Linked DNA regions of Homo sapiens: region 1 is linked to region 2. The links are contacts of gene promoters, found by promoter capture Hi-C in human tissues and cell types (Jung and others, 2019). All regions are on one chromosome and are shown on one strand. The core of a region is centred on a gene start or on the middle of the fragment in contact, and the rest is flanking DNA. Distances in the headings are between cores, read along the strand shown. Region 1 holds the start of LOC102725159 (a long non-coding RNA gene). Region 2 holds the start of PLEKHH2 (pleckstrin homology, MyTH4 and FERM domain containing H2).

What was found. The method cuts DNA at HindIII sites, captures the fragments that hold promoters and counts their contacts. A contact is called where the count stands out against the background at its distance.
Region 1: a contact is called between a fragment that was not itself captured here and the fragment with the promoter of PLEKHH2 in region 2, in 1 of the 25 tissues and cell types used here (IMR-90 fibroblasts).

The regions. Positions count from the first base shown.
Region 1 is chr2:43,842,630-43,848,663 of GRCh38, reverse strand. It overlaps ABCG8 (ATP binding cassette subfamily G member 8), which reads right to left. Exons shown (of 13, transcript NM_022437.3): 2 at 4,056-4,157; 3 at 2,353-2,509. LOC102725159 (a long non-coding RNA gene) reads left to right here and starts at 4,144. Exons shown (of 2, transcript XR_940032.4): 1 at 4,144-4,235; 2 at 4,563-4,877. RefSeq lists a silencer at 209-258. The HindIII fragment of the contact is 5,067 bases long and covers 662-5,728 here.
Region 2 is chr2:43,634,280-43,640,325 of GRCh38, reverse strand. It overlaps PLEKHH2 (pleckstrin homology, MyTH4 and FERM domain containing H2), which reads right to left and starts at 3,066. Exons shown (of 30, transcript NM_172069.4): 1 at 2,947-3,066. RefSeq lists a silencer at 2,833-3,162. The HindIII fragment of the contact is 17,439 bases long and covers 1-6,046 here.

The sequences.
Region 1 (6,034 bases), core at 1,946-4,445, 210 kb before region 2:
GGGGATGGCAGTAAAAGTCACAGGAAGTGTAGTTGATGAACCTTTCTAATAAATCATTTTAATAATTTCAGCTGCTCAGTTAAACTAAATTTGGCCTGAGGCTGCCTGCATACTTTGAGTTCCCACAGAGCAAACTGCAAGCAAACTTAGTATGTAAACAAACTGCAACTTATCTTAGCAGTATATTCTCTTAAGACAGAGACTGGCTGAGACAAGTTGCTGAGTCTCAGCCAATCATGGCAGCCAAGCATCAGCCAATCACAGGCTACCGACTGATGAGCTCCTGTCCATACCCAACACCTGATCACATCACCCTCAAATAAATAAGGTGAACACCCAACTGTAACCAATCAGCTATTTCTGTAGGGCACTTCCTTTTTCTGTCTATAAATACTGCCTGACCAAATTGCTTGGGGGAGCCTCTGAACTGGTCCTGTTTTTGAGTGCTGCCAGATTCATTAATCACTATTTGCTCAGACAACTCTACTATTTATTTGTCTAAAGTTGTTTGTTGTTGTTTTGTTTTTTGTTTTTGTTTTTTTTACACAGGCAAGTAAACCTGAAGCCAAACAACACTGAATCTATAAACAACCAGGAGATGCTCGGTGCAGTGACTCATGCCTGTAATCCCAGCACTTTGAGAGGCCAAGGCAAGCAGATCACCTGAGGCCAGGAGTTGGAGATCAGCCTGGCCACCATGGCAAAACCATATCTCTACAAAAAATACAAAAAAAAATGAGCCAGGCATAGTGGCACCCACCTGTAATCCCAGCTACTTGGGAGGCTGAGACATGAGACTCGCTTGAACCCAGGAGGAGCGGGTTGCAGTGAGCCGAGATCACACCACTGCAATCCAGCCTAGGCAACAGAGAGAGACTGCCTCAAAAAAACAAAACAACAACAACAAAAAAAACAAAACAGGAGACTATTCAGTGTAATTTATTCATTCCTTTCTAAGAGACGGGATCGTGCTCTGTTGCCCAGGCTGGAGTGCAGTGGCGCGATCTCGACTCACTGCAAGCTCCACCTCCCAGGTTCACGCCATTCTCCTGCCTCAACCTCCCAAGTAGCTGGGACTACAGGCACCCACCACGACACCCAGCTAATTTTTTGTATTTTTAGTAGAGACGGGGTTTCACCGTGATAGCCAGGACGGTCTCGATCTCCTGACCTCGTGATCTGCCCGCCTCGGCCTCCCAAAGTGCTAGGATTACAGGTATGAGCCACTGTGCCTGGCCGGGATCTACTTTTTTCTTATTTAGGTCAGGATTGCAGGGACAGGGACAGAGTGAGAGGGACTTCATGACTGTGATGCTGTTTCAGTTACAAAGTGCATTTATACATAAGATTTCATTTGATCTTTGGTTATACGGTAAACAGAACTTATCTACCAGACGGGTGTAAAAGTTTGGAGCAGAATGTTTAAAAAATTGAGTAATCTCTACCTCTGGAAATGATTAATTAAAAGATATAAAATGCTCTCTCCAGCACTATGTAAGGGTGTCCCAGGGAGAAATGTCTTGATCCGAGAATGATGAAACCAAAGTTCTAGTTCTAGCTCTGCATTAAATATGTGTCCTTACGAGAATCCCTCAATTTCTTTGGATTTGAGTCTCCTCATCTGTCAAATGGAGGGGAGTGTGTGTGTGTGTGTGTGTGTGTGTGTGTGTGTGCACGCGCGCGTGCAGGAGGATACTCTAGACACACTGAGGAGTAGGGAGTTTGAACACCTTCCTCTGAAAATGCTTCCAAACTGGTAGGGAGAAAGAAAGGTGGAACATGATGAGAATGACCTCTGTTCCCCAAGCCCCCTTTCAGCTCAGACATTCTCTCATTTTAAATTTGGCCATGGAAATGACAATTTGAGGCACTCCAAGAACCTGGCTCTTTGCAGATGAGTGAAAGTTGTGCTAAGTAAGACACTGGAGAGGCTGTCTGAGAGGTGAGAGTGTGGCAGGGGCTGTCTGGCCATAATCAGAATGTGATTGTGGAGGAACAACCTGAACCAATGCCCCTCATGGCTGGAGGAGTCTGAAAAGAACATTACATGCTGGAGCTGTTTGCTGATCTCTCCGTCCAGGTGTTAGCCAAAGTCAGATGCTCTGGCCACAGCCTCGGGTGGACAAGAGGCGCACTCATGACTCTTAACAACAGCACCTACCCTCAAGCCAGCAAATGGAGGAGCCAGGATTTGAGCCCAGGTCTGTCTGACCCAGAACCTGTGTTCTCAGCCATTCTGCTGTATTATTCTACTAGTCAGCAAAGAGCTCCATAAGAAGCATCCATTTGTCCAAAGGACCATTCTGTATCCCAGGAGAGAAACCATTGCCCAGCGATTTGCCTTTCCGGTACCTGAGCTCCCTATGATGGCCAGCATCTGCCCACTTCTCACTTTGAAGCTTAGGTTCTGGATGCCCAGCTCACAAGAATTCTGGCAGCTGGGAGATGTCCAGGGCATCTTGAACTGAGCCAGCTGCTCAAACCAAGGGACCTGAGAGGCCAGGTCCACCTGTGGGGAGATATCAGAAGGTTCCTTAGAGAGCTGAATGGTTCAGAGGGCTTCAGCAACTTCTGTTCAGCATCTTCGTTCCCCAGGTGGCCCCTCTCCACAGAGGATATGTCCTCACCTACACACAATAGGCCCCAACCCAGGTTCTACCAAACACGGAAGCAGGACCCATGCTGAGAACCTGTAGCTGCTGTTTCTAGGTCTGAAGATAAGAAGAATGAAAAGCATGTACAGGCCAGGCATGGTGGCTCATGCCTGTAATCTCAGCACTTTGGAAGGCTGAGGCAGGTGGATCACCTGAGGTCAGGAGTTTGAGACCAGCCTGGCCAACATGGTAAAACCCCGCCTCTACTAAAAATACAAAAATTAGCCAGGCATGGTGGTGGTTGCCTGTAATCCCAGCTACTTGGGAGGCTGAGGCAGGAGAATCACTTGAATTTGGGAGGCAGAGATTGCAGTCAGCCAAGATTGCACCACTGCATCCCAGCCTGGGTGACAGAATGAGACTCCATCTCAAAAAAAAAAGTAAGGAAAAAAGAAAATCATGTGCAATAGTGGTACAGAAATAAAAATAAAACACGAAGCAAAATGTCTTCACTTGATACTAGTAATTTACTAATAATTTATCAGATGTTTACTATGTGCAAGACATTGTGTTAATCACTTAACATCCATCACCTTATTCAATCCTCACTGCAAATCTATAACATAGATATGCTCAGAATCCTTGTTTTACAGATGAGGCTCAGGGCAGTTAAGCAACTTGCTCAAGGTCACACAGCTGGTAAGTGGCAGAGCAGAGAAAGGCTCATTGGCTTGTCCCAACTCACACCCACAGGAAGCCAGACTCAGGCCTCTGAAGTTCACCATCCCAGACCCCACCATGTCCCATCTGGGTCCCTGGGGAGCTGTGGGAATATGGATCCTTGAATCTGACCAGGGGGTTCCTGGGTGCCTCTGAAAGGTCAGTCATTGTCTTTGCACTCTGGATGTTTTATAAGCTCCAGGGATAGTACATTTTACAAAAAAAAAATTATATATATATATATATATATACACACACACACACACACATATATATATAACTAATGAAATCTGAATAAAGTCTGTAGTTAATAGCATTGTACATTGTTCATTTCTTAGTGTTCATAATTATACTATGGGTATGCAAGATGTTAACATTAGGGGAAGCTGGACAATGGGTATATGGAAACACTGTGTTATTTTTGCAATTTTTTCCAAAATCTAAAGTTATTTCAAAATATAGTTTAAAAAGAGTCCCAGAGACATTTTTCTATAGGTTCACGCATTTTGTTTTATGTTTATACAACAGTTTTATTCTCTTTTCAAGCCTCTCAACCTCCAGCTCTGATATATGCCATTGATGACACCTATTGCACCTGACACGTGAGGCATCAATGTGGACTGGACTCTGTCCTTGCGGGCAGAGGGCCTGCAAGTTGGGCCCACCCTTTTATTTCCACCCGGGGAATTTCCTGGCTGTCCCTGCCTGCTCCTCTCCCCTTGAACCCAGGCGTGCCTCTACCTGGTAGTTGAGGTCTCTGACCTCCAGGGTGTTGGGCTGGCCACTGTAGGTGAAGTACAGGCTGTTGTCACTTTCAGAGGAGAACAATCTATCCTGGAGGCCCTGTGGGAGACAGGAGAGATGAGGGGCTCCTTTAGAAGCTGCTGAGAACATAGGAGAAGACAAGAAGGAAACCAACAGGTGAGAGCAACTTCTTAGAGCCGACGTGGTTAAATCTCAAATTGGCAACAGATGGGATTGCACAGGTGGAACCTCAGGGCTTTGGGAAAATAGGAGTGCTGACAAGGGCCCATCTCCTCTTCCCTTCAGAGAGAGGTTTGGGGCTTCTCCCGGGGCACCTTCCCAGAGAACCTCAACCTCAGGCTGGTGGAGCCTGAAGCCAAGCAGCTTCTGGTAAAGAGACCCAGACTCTGGACCGGAGAGAGTTCTATAAAAAAACCTCTGTGCTCTGAGAAGACCTGACTGGAGTGGGCAAACTCTTTGCCTTTAACTTTCTCTTCCCTGCAGCTGGCTTAATATCTCCTGAGGCCAAACAGACATGACACTTGCAGCATGTGAGAGGGAAGCAGCTGTTGAGAGTTAATGCCCAATATTCATGAAGATACCACCCTGAGAAAAATTCTAACCAACATCTTAGTCCTCACTAACATCTGGCATACTTCTCCTCATATCTGATTTTGATGAAGAGTTCATGCAACAAAGTGATGGAAAATGCTGCTGGGAGCTTTGAGAGGAAGTCCCTCTCATCATCATCATCATGTTGTTGTTATTGTCGAAGTGGTGGTATATTTGAATGTACATTAAAAAATCAATGTTTCATGGTGTCGGCTGATACCTTTGAATGGTATTAACCATCTGCAGATCTCAATTCCTCCTATTTTGACAATTCAATCATTTAAACCATTGAGGCCCAAACAAAGAAGCAACAGGAAGTCCCCCATCATTTCTTTTTCTTTGGATTGGGTCTCGCTCTATCACCCAGGATGGAGTGCAGTGACATGATCACAGCTCACTGCATCCTCAACCTCTCAGGCTCAAGCAATCCTCCCACCTCAGCCTCCCCACCACACCCAGCTAATTTTTGTATTTTTTGTAGAGACAGGGTTTCACCATGTTGGTCTCAAACTCCTGGGCTCAAGTGATCCACCCACCTCAGCATCCCAAAGTGCTGTGATTACAAGGGTGAACCACCTCGTCTGACCTCCATTTTTTACTGCATTCAATTTTTCTTACATTTCTGTCAGGCAGGAACAAGTACACTTTCATTAACAAGTTCCCATAGACTTTCCTCCTCAAGCTACCATTCTCACACTATACATTCCTTCAATCAACCATGCACCCAACAAACACTTATGGGGAGCCCAGAACACCCTTCAGGCTTGGAATTTGGGATGTGACAATGAAAAGGCCGTTGAAAAGCTTAGATTTTGGCAGATGAGACAGGTGATTACGATGGAGCGAGACAGACCAGGCAGAGAGGGAGGCTGACCTCAAGCATCTGACCAGGGTTTATTTTCACTATGTACACAATGCACGCACATGCTGTAGGTGAAACTAACATGACTTATGCCTTACGTGAAAATAACAAATAACATACAGCAGTCTTCTTGTCAAAGTACCCCTGCAATGATGGGGGCCAGAAGTTCTCGGAAAGAACATTCCAGGTCAGTGGAGGTGGAGGGAAAGAAATTCGGTGACAGTATGCCGCAGGCGTGCTGTGGGGAACCCTTAGAGTTCTGGGAGAGTATGAAAAACAGCAGACGAAAGTGACTTCCATTGCTTAATGTTTGAATTATCACCATAAAGACCCAAAATTATACAGAAAAAAATGGGAAAGATAAACACCTAATTCAGGAGAGGGGTTATCTCTGGGGAGCGGGGAGAGATGAAAGGAGAAAGGGGACACAGTAGGAGTGCGGGGATCAAGCTTCAAAGCTTTTGGTAATTGGTGGTGTGTACATGAGAGTTCTTTAAGCTGA
Region 2 (6,046 bases), core at 1,817-4,316:
CCCAGCTACTCGGGAGCCCTGTGTGGGAGGATCACTTGAGCAGTGAGCTATGATCATACACTGCACTCCAGCCTGGGTGACAAGAGTGAGACACCGTCTCAAAAAAAAAAAAAAGTTTAAATATAAAGTTACCAAGTTATTGGAGTAACTTTATATTTGGTATATCAATATAAAGTATTGGTAACTTTATACTTGGCATTGGAGTTGCTGGGTCATATGCCAAGGGATGGGGTCATATGCCAAGGGATGAAATACACATCCACACCAAAACTTGTAAATAAATGTTCAGAGCAACATTATTCATGATAGCCAAAGAGTAGAAACAGCCTGTGTCCACCATCAGATGAATGAATAAAATGTAGTAGATCTGGCTGGGTGCAGTGGCTCACTCCTGTAATCCCAGCACTTTGTAGGGCAAAAGCAGGTGGATCATCTGAGGTCAGGAGTTCAAGACAAGCCTGGCCAACATGGCAAAACCCCGTCTCTACTAAAAATACAAAAATTAGCCAGGCATGGTGGTGCAGGCCTATAATTCCAGCTACTAGGGAGGCTGAGACAGGAGAATTGCTTTAACCCAGGAGGCAGAAGTTGCAGTGAGCTGAGATCCTGCCATTGCACTCCAGCCTGGGTGACAGAGTGAGACTCTGTCTCAAAAAAAAAAAAAAAAAAAAAAAAGTGGTACATCCATACAATGGAATATTATTCGGCCATAAAAAAGGAATACAGTACTAATACACGCTATAGTCATGGAAGAGCCTTGAAAACATTATGCTAAGTGAAAGATGCCAGACACAAAAGGCCACATATTGTATGAGTCCATTTACATGAAATGTCCATAAGAGGCAAATCCAAAGGACAGAAAGTAGGTTAGTGGTTGCCAAGGGCTGTGAGGAGAAGGTAGCAGATACTGACTACAATGGATAGGGGGTTTCTTTTTGGGGTGATGAAAATATTCTAGAATTAGATATTGGTGATGGCTATACAACCTTGTGAATATACCAAAACCCAGTGAACTGTATACTTTAAAAGGAAAAATCTTATAGTTTGTGACTTATATTAAGATCTCAATAAAAAAGATCACATATTTACAAATGACTAAAGAAAAAGTCGCAGTTTAAATGGATGTATACTAGGACTGCATTTACAAATTTAATCAACCATTATTTGTGGTTATCCCTGCCAAGAATTTCACAATTAGCTCAAAAAATTGAGAGGTAACTGTTAACCCCAAATATGAAAAGTATCATACATATATCTTACCTAGCGCACTTTGCTATGATGACATAATAAATTAATTCAAAGTCAAACATACCTATTTCTTTAGTTATGCTAATTATATATTTTATAGTGAAGTAGCAAAGCCTTAAGAATATTATTAAATTGGCATTTAACATCTACATTCCCTATTAATGGGTCATAATAAATCAGAACTGCAAATTGGTTGGATAATGGTCTGCACTGAGATCCAGACACCTGATTCCCTCATTTCATTCTGTAATTTCAGTTAGTTAACAAGTACAAAGCAACTGTTGTATTAGTGCACCATCTTGGGTAGTTAAAAATTCTAATTTTAAACAATATCCGCCATCCTTTTCATTACCACTAATGTTATAGAACTATATAACATTGGGAATATATATATAACTATATAACATAGCCGACTGCTAAATAAAGAAAATACCACATATAGATTCTGAATTTGAAAGGAATCTATCATGTCTAGATTCTGCATTTGAAAATAATCTATCTTCACTTCAGGGGACAGGAAAAAGTCTTGGAGTTCCAAATACCCCCAGTGATTTTTGGAAGTATTTACTGACATAAGATAAACTGTTTACAATTGTGGAGTGAATGCTCTTTTCTCTGAATCTCTGACTTCCTGTTTCTCTTCCAAATCCCAAAAAGGAAAGAAAAAGAAATGAAAGAATTATTCTACTTAGGCTTACCCTGATGAAGCGCAGCGTTAGTCTCTATGATATTCTTTAGTTTTTGCCTCTTAAGGGACAGCTTAACTGGGCTGGGTAATCGTGTGTGTGAGTGTGTGTGTGTGTGTGTGTGTGTGTGTGTGTGTGTGTGTTAAAAGATCTTTCTCGACGAGACTGAGGCATGCCTTGTTTAAGGAACCTTCTGACCACCACCTAGCCACCTAGCCCCACTTGGGCAACGCCTGCCCTTCGGTGACCCTGCCCAGAACAGCCGAGCTCCTCACTACATACTCCTCTGGGACACACCGCTGTGCGGGCCAGGCTTCCAAGACTGGCATTTTCACAAAGAAAGCAGTGACCCTCAGGTAGCCCACCACCAGAGCTTTTCCAATGTAAGTGGTTCGACTTCTATTTCCACAGCGTTACGCACAACAATATCGACGGGTAAAAAGTGTTGTCCTTTAAAAAGTGCCCCACTAACTTCGGGGACAGTGGTTTCCGGGTAGGTCACCTTAGGGTGCTTTGACGTGCCAGCAACTCGAGGTGTACAAAATGCTTCTTTAAAGTTTTGAGTTTAAAGTTTCGCCCCGGAGATCCTGGTGGATCTCCCGAAGCCTAAGGCGAGCGCGGCATCCCTGACCGCGCGGGTCCCTCGGCTCGGGGACCCTGGGCTGCCCCGCTGCGCCCCCGGGACCGCTCGCGCCGCGCCAGAAGCCCGGGCCCAGTGTTTCCAAACAGAACGTCACGGGAGCCCACGGGCGCGAGGGACCGCCGGCCACCGCCCCCTGCCCACCTCTCCCGGCGACATCCAGACTTGGGGGCCGACTCTGGGCTGTGGCGGGAGGTGCAGCGGCGGATCCCGAGTCAGCCCGCTCCGTCCCTCTCGTCCCCGCCTTCCCGCTCCTCCCGGCGCCCCAAACCTCGGCCCCGCGAGCCCCCCTGGACGGGGCGCCCTCAAGGGGGCGGGGATCCCAGGGTGGCAGGAACTCTGGAGTGGCCCCTCGTCCCCGGGCTTTCTCACCTGTCTATCTCAGCAGCGGGTCCCCGGCCGCAGCGCCCGATGTCCCGGCCGCGACTGGCCCCCGGGATCCCCGGACTCTCAGCCCGCGCCCGCCTCAAGCCGAGCTCGGAGAGGGCGGGGAAGGGCACCGCCTCCTCCAGGGACTGGCAGCCGGTGTAGCCAATGGGAGACCACAGCCGACCACCGGGCGTCACCGGGGGTGTGGCTATAACTTTGGCTCCTCCCAGTCCCTGCCCCAGGAGGGAGCTCTGTCCTGGAGTGGTACCCCTAACGTCCCAACTGCGAGACTCCAGAGCTTGCTGCAGCGGCCGGTCACCTTCATTCCACTCCGTCTGCCTGGACTGTTGCAGCACCCTCCCTTGGTCTCCCAGTCTGAAGTCTCTCCTCTTGCCAATCCACCCTTCATCTTCCTGCCAGGTTAATTTCCTTAAGAGCAGTTTTGATGAACAGTGTGCCAAAGACTTTCATTGGCTTCCGTTTGCTTAAATTATCAAGAACAGATTCCCTAGTCTAGTGTTCAAGGTCTCCATCCCGTCTTTTCAGGTTTATTTCTCACAGCTGCCCTTCACACACCTGAGACTACTGCTGTGCACCTCGCCACCCGAAGGAAGTGGCACTAGGAGCGTTTACATGCTATTTCCTGTCTCCACTTCAAAAAGCTCAGAATAATCTTCTCACCGGGCGCAGTGGCTCACGCCTGTAATCCCAGTACTTTGGGGGACCGAGGCAGGTGGATCACTTGAGGCCAGGAGTTCGAGACGAGCCTGGGCAACATGGTGAAACCCTGTCTCTACCAAAAAAAAAAAAAAAATATATATATATATATATATATATACACACAAAAAAAAAAAATTAGCTGGGCTTGGTGGCGCTCACTTGTAGTCCCAGCTACTCAGGAGGCTAAGGCTGGAGGATTGCTTAAACACAGGAGATGGAGGCTGCAGTGAGCCGCGATCATGCCACTGCACTGGATCCTGGGCGACTGGGCGAGATCCTGTCTCAAATCATCATCATTATCATCATCATCATCATCATCATCTTCTCCATGTAACTATGTCTGTCGCTCCACCTGGCAGAAATGTCGTCTCTGGGCCGGGCGCAGTGGCTCATGCCTGTAATTCCAGCACTTTGGGAGGCCGAGGAGGGCAGATCACGAGGTCAAGAGATCGAGACCATCCTGGCCAACATGGTGAAACCTGGTCTGTACTAAAAATACAAAAATTAGCTGGGCGTGGTGGTGCACGACTGTAGTCCCAGCTACTCGGGAGGCTGAGGCAGGAGAATCGCTTGAACCTGGGAAGCGGAGGTTGCAGTGAGCCAAGATAGCACCACTGCACTCTAGCCTGCCTACAGAGCAAGACTCCATCTGAGACAAAAAAAAAAAAAAAGGTCTTCTCTGGTTTCTGCTCCCTGAACATCTAGATTTTTGCCTCTCTTGGGGCTTAGCTCCCTCTGCCTTATGCACAGCTCCTCACATCTCTTTTAGACTGTGAGCACTTTGAAAACAAGGATTTGTGGTTTTTTTTTTTTTTTTGCATTCTCCTCAGCACAGAGCATATTGCATAAGTAAATTAGTGATAATTTAAATCCAGGTGAATTTTACATCCCAACTTAGGGTCTGGAGAGGTCAATCTCAGGGTAAAATAAAGAGAATTCTGAATGTTATGGATAATCGTTCCCCAGGTCACAAAGCTAGGTCAGACAGATTATTCTCTTTGGTTCACAGTTGGCCAATAGAGAGTATCAGAAAAACTTTTTCTACTACAATCTTTTTTTTTTTAACTTTATCTCATCTTATATAAAACACACACACACACACACACACACACACACACACACACACACACACACAGAGGATGGGCACAGTGGCTCATGCCTGTAATCCCAGCATTTTGGGAGACCAAGGCGGGCAGATGACTTGAGGTCAGGAGTTTGAGACCATCCTGGCCAACATATCGAAACCCCATCTCTACTAAAAATACAAAAATTAGCTGAACATGGTGGCATACGCCTGTAATCCCAGCTATTCAGGAGGCTGAGACAGGAGAATCGCTTGAGCCAGGAAGGCAGCAGTTGCAGTGAGCTGAGATCGCACCACTGCACTCCAGATTGGGTGACAGAGCAAGACTCTGTCTCAAAAAAAAGGAAAGAAAAAACCACAAAAGAGATAAAGATTTTCAAAGTTTCTCAGAGGAAAAGCAATAAGTGAATACAACTAAAAGTCCAGTAAGCAAGTATCAGGCTTTCATATTTCTTCCAGATGAGCATTAATTTTGAACAGGATCCCAGACTACCCCCACACATCAAATTCCTTTTGCCTTCTGTGGGAGCTGATGATGCATATCATATGAAAAATTGTCTTCAAACAGCTTTGGCAAACAAGCAGACTGGACTGGGCTTATTTTATAGAGCACGCAGGAGTTAAACAAACAGAGTTTCAGTAACTTGCATAATTTAACACAGCAAGTCAGTAGAGACCAAGCAGGAGAAAGAGAGAAAGAATGCCAAAATAGAATCACTTCCGTTTGTGAGTCAGAAATACTAATTAGACTAAAAGAACTGAGTGAATAAAGTCACTCATGAAAAGCCGCTTTGTAAACACGGCTGCCACCCTTGTAAGGCTTAGCCAATATTTACTTACTGTCACCTTTTTCTAGAAACATGACAAACTGAATTTGTCTGGGTATGGAGAATACAGCGGAACAGCATCCTATCTTTGTCTATGCTGAGAAAAACACATGGTACAATGGAATATTATTCAGTGGTAAAAAGAAATAAAGTACTGATACATGCTACAACATTGATAAACCTTGAAAACATTATACTTAATGAAAGAAGCCAGTCATTTAAAAGGCACATACTGTAGGATCCCATTTACATGAAATGTTCAGAACAGGCAAATCCATAGAGACATAAGTGGATTGGTGGTTGCTTAGGGCTGGGAAGGATCGGGGTGATGGCTAAGACAAGTGAGGTTTATTTTTGCGATAATAAAAACATTTATGGTGATGATTACACAACTTTGAACATACAAAAAGCCATGGACATACGCAATTTAAATGGATAAACTGGATGTTATTGAATTATATCTCAATAAAGA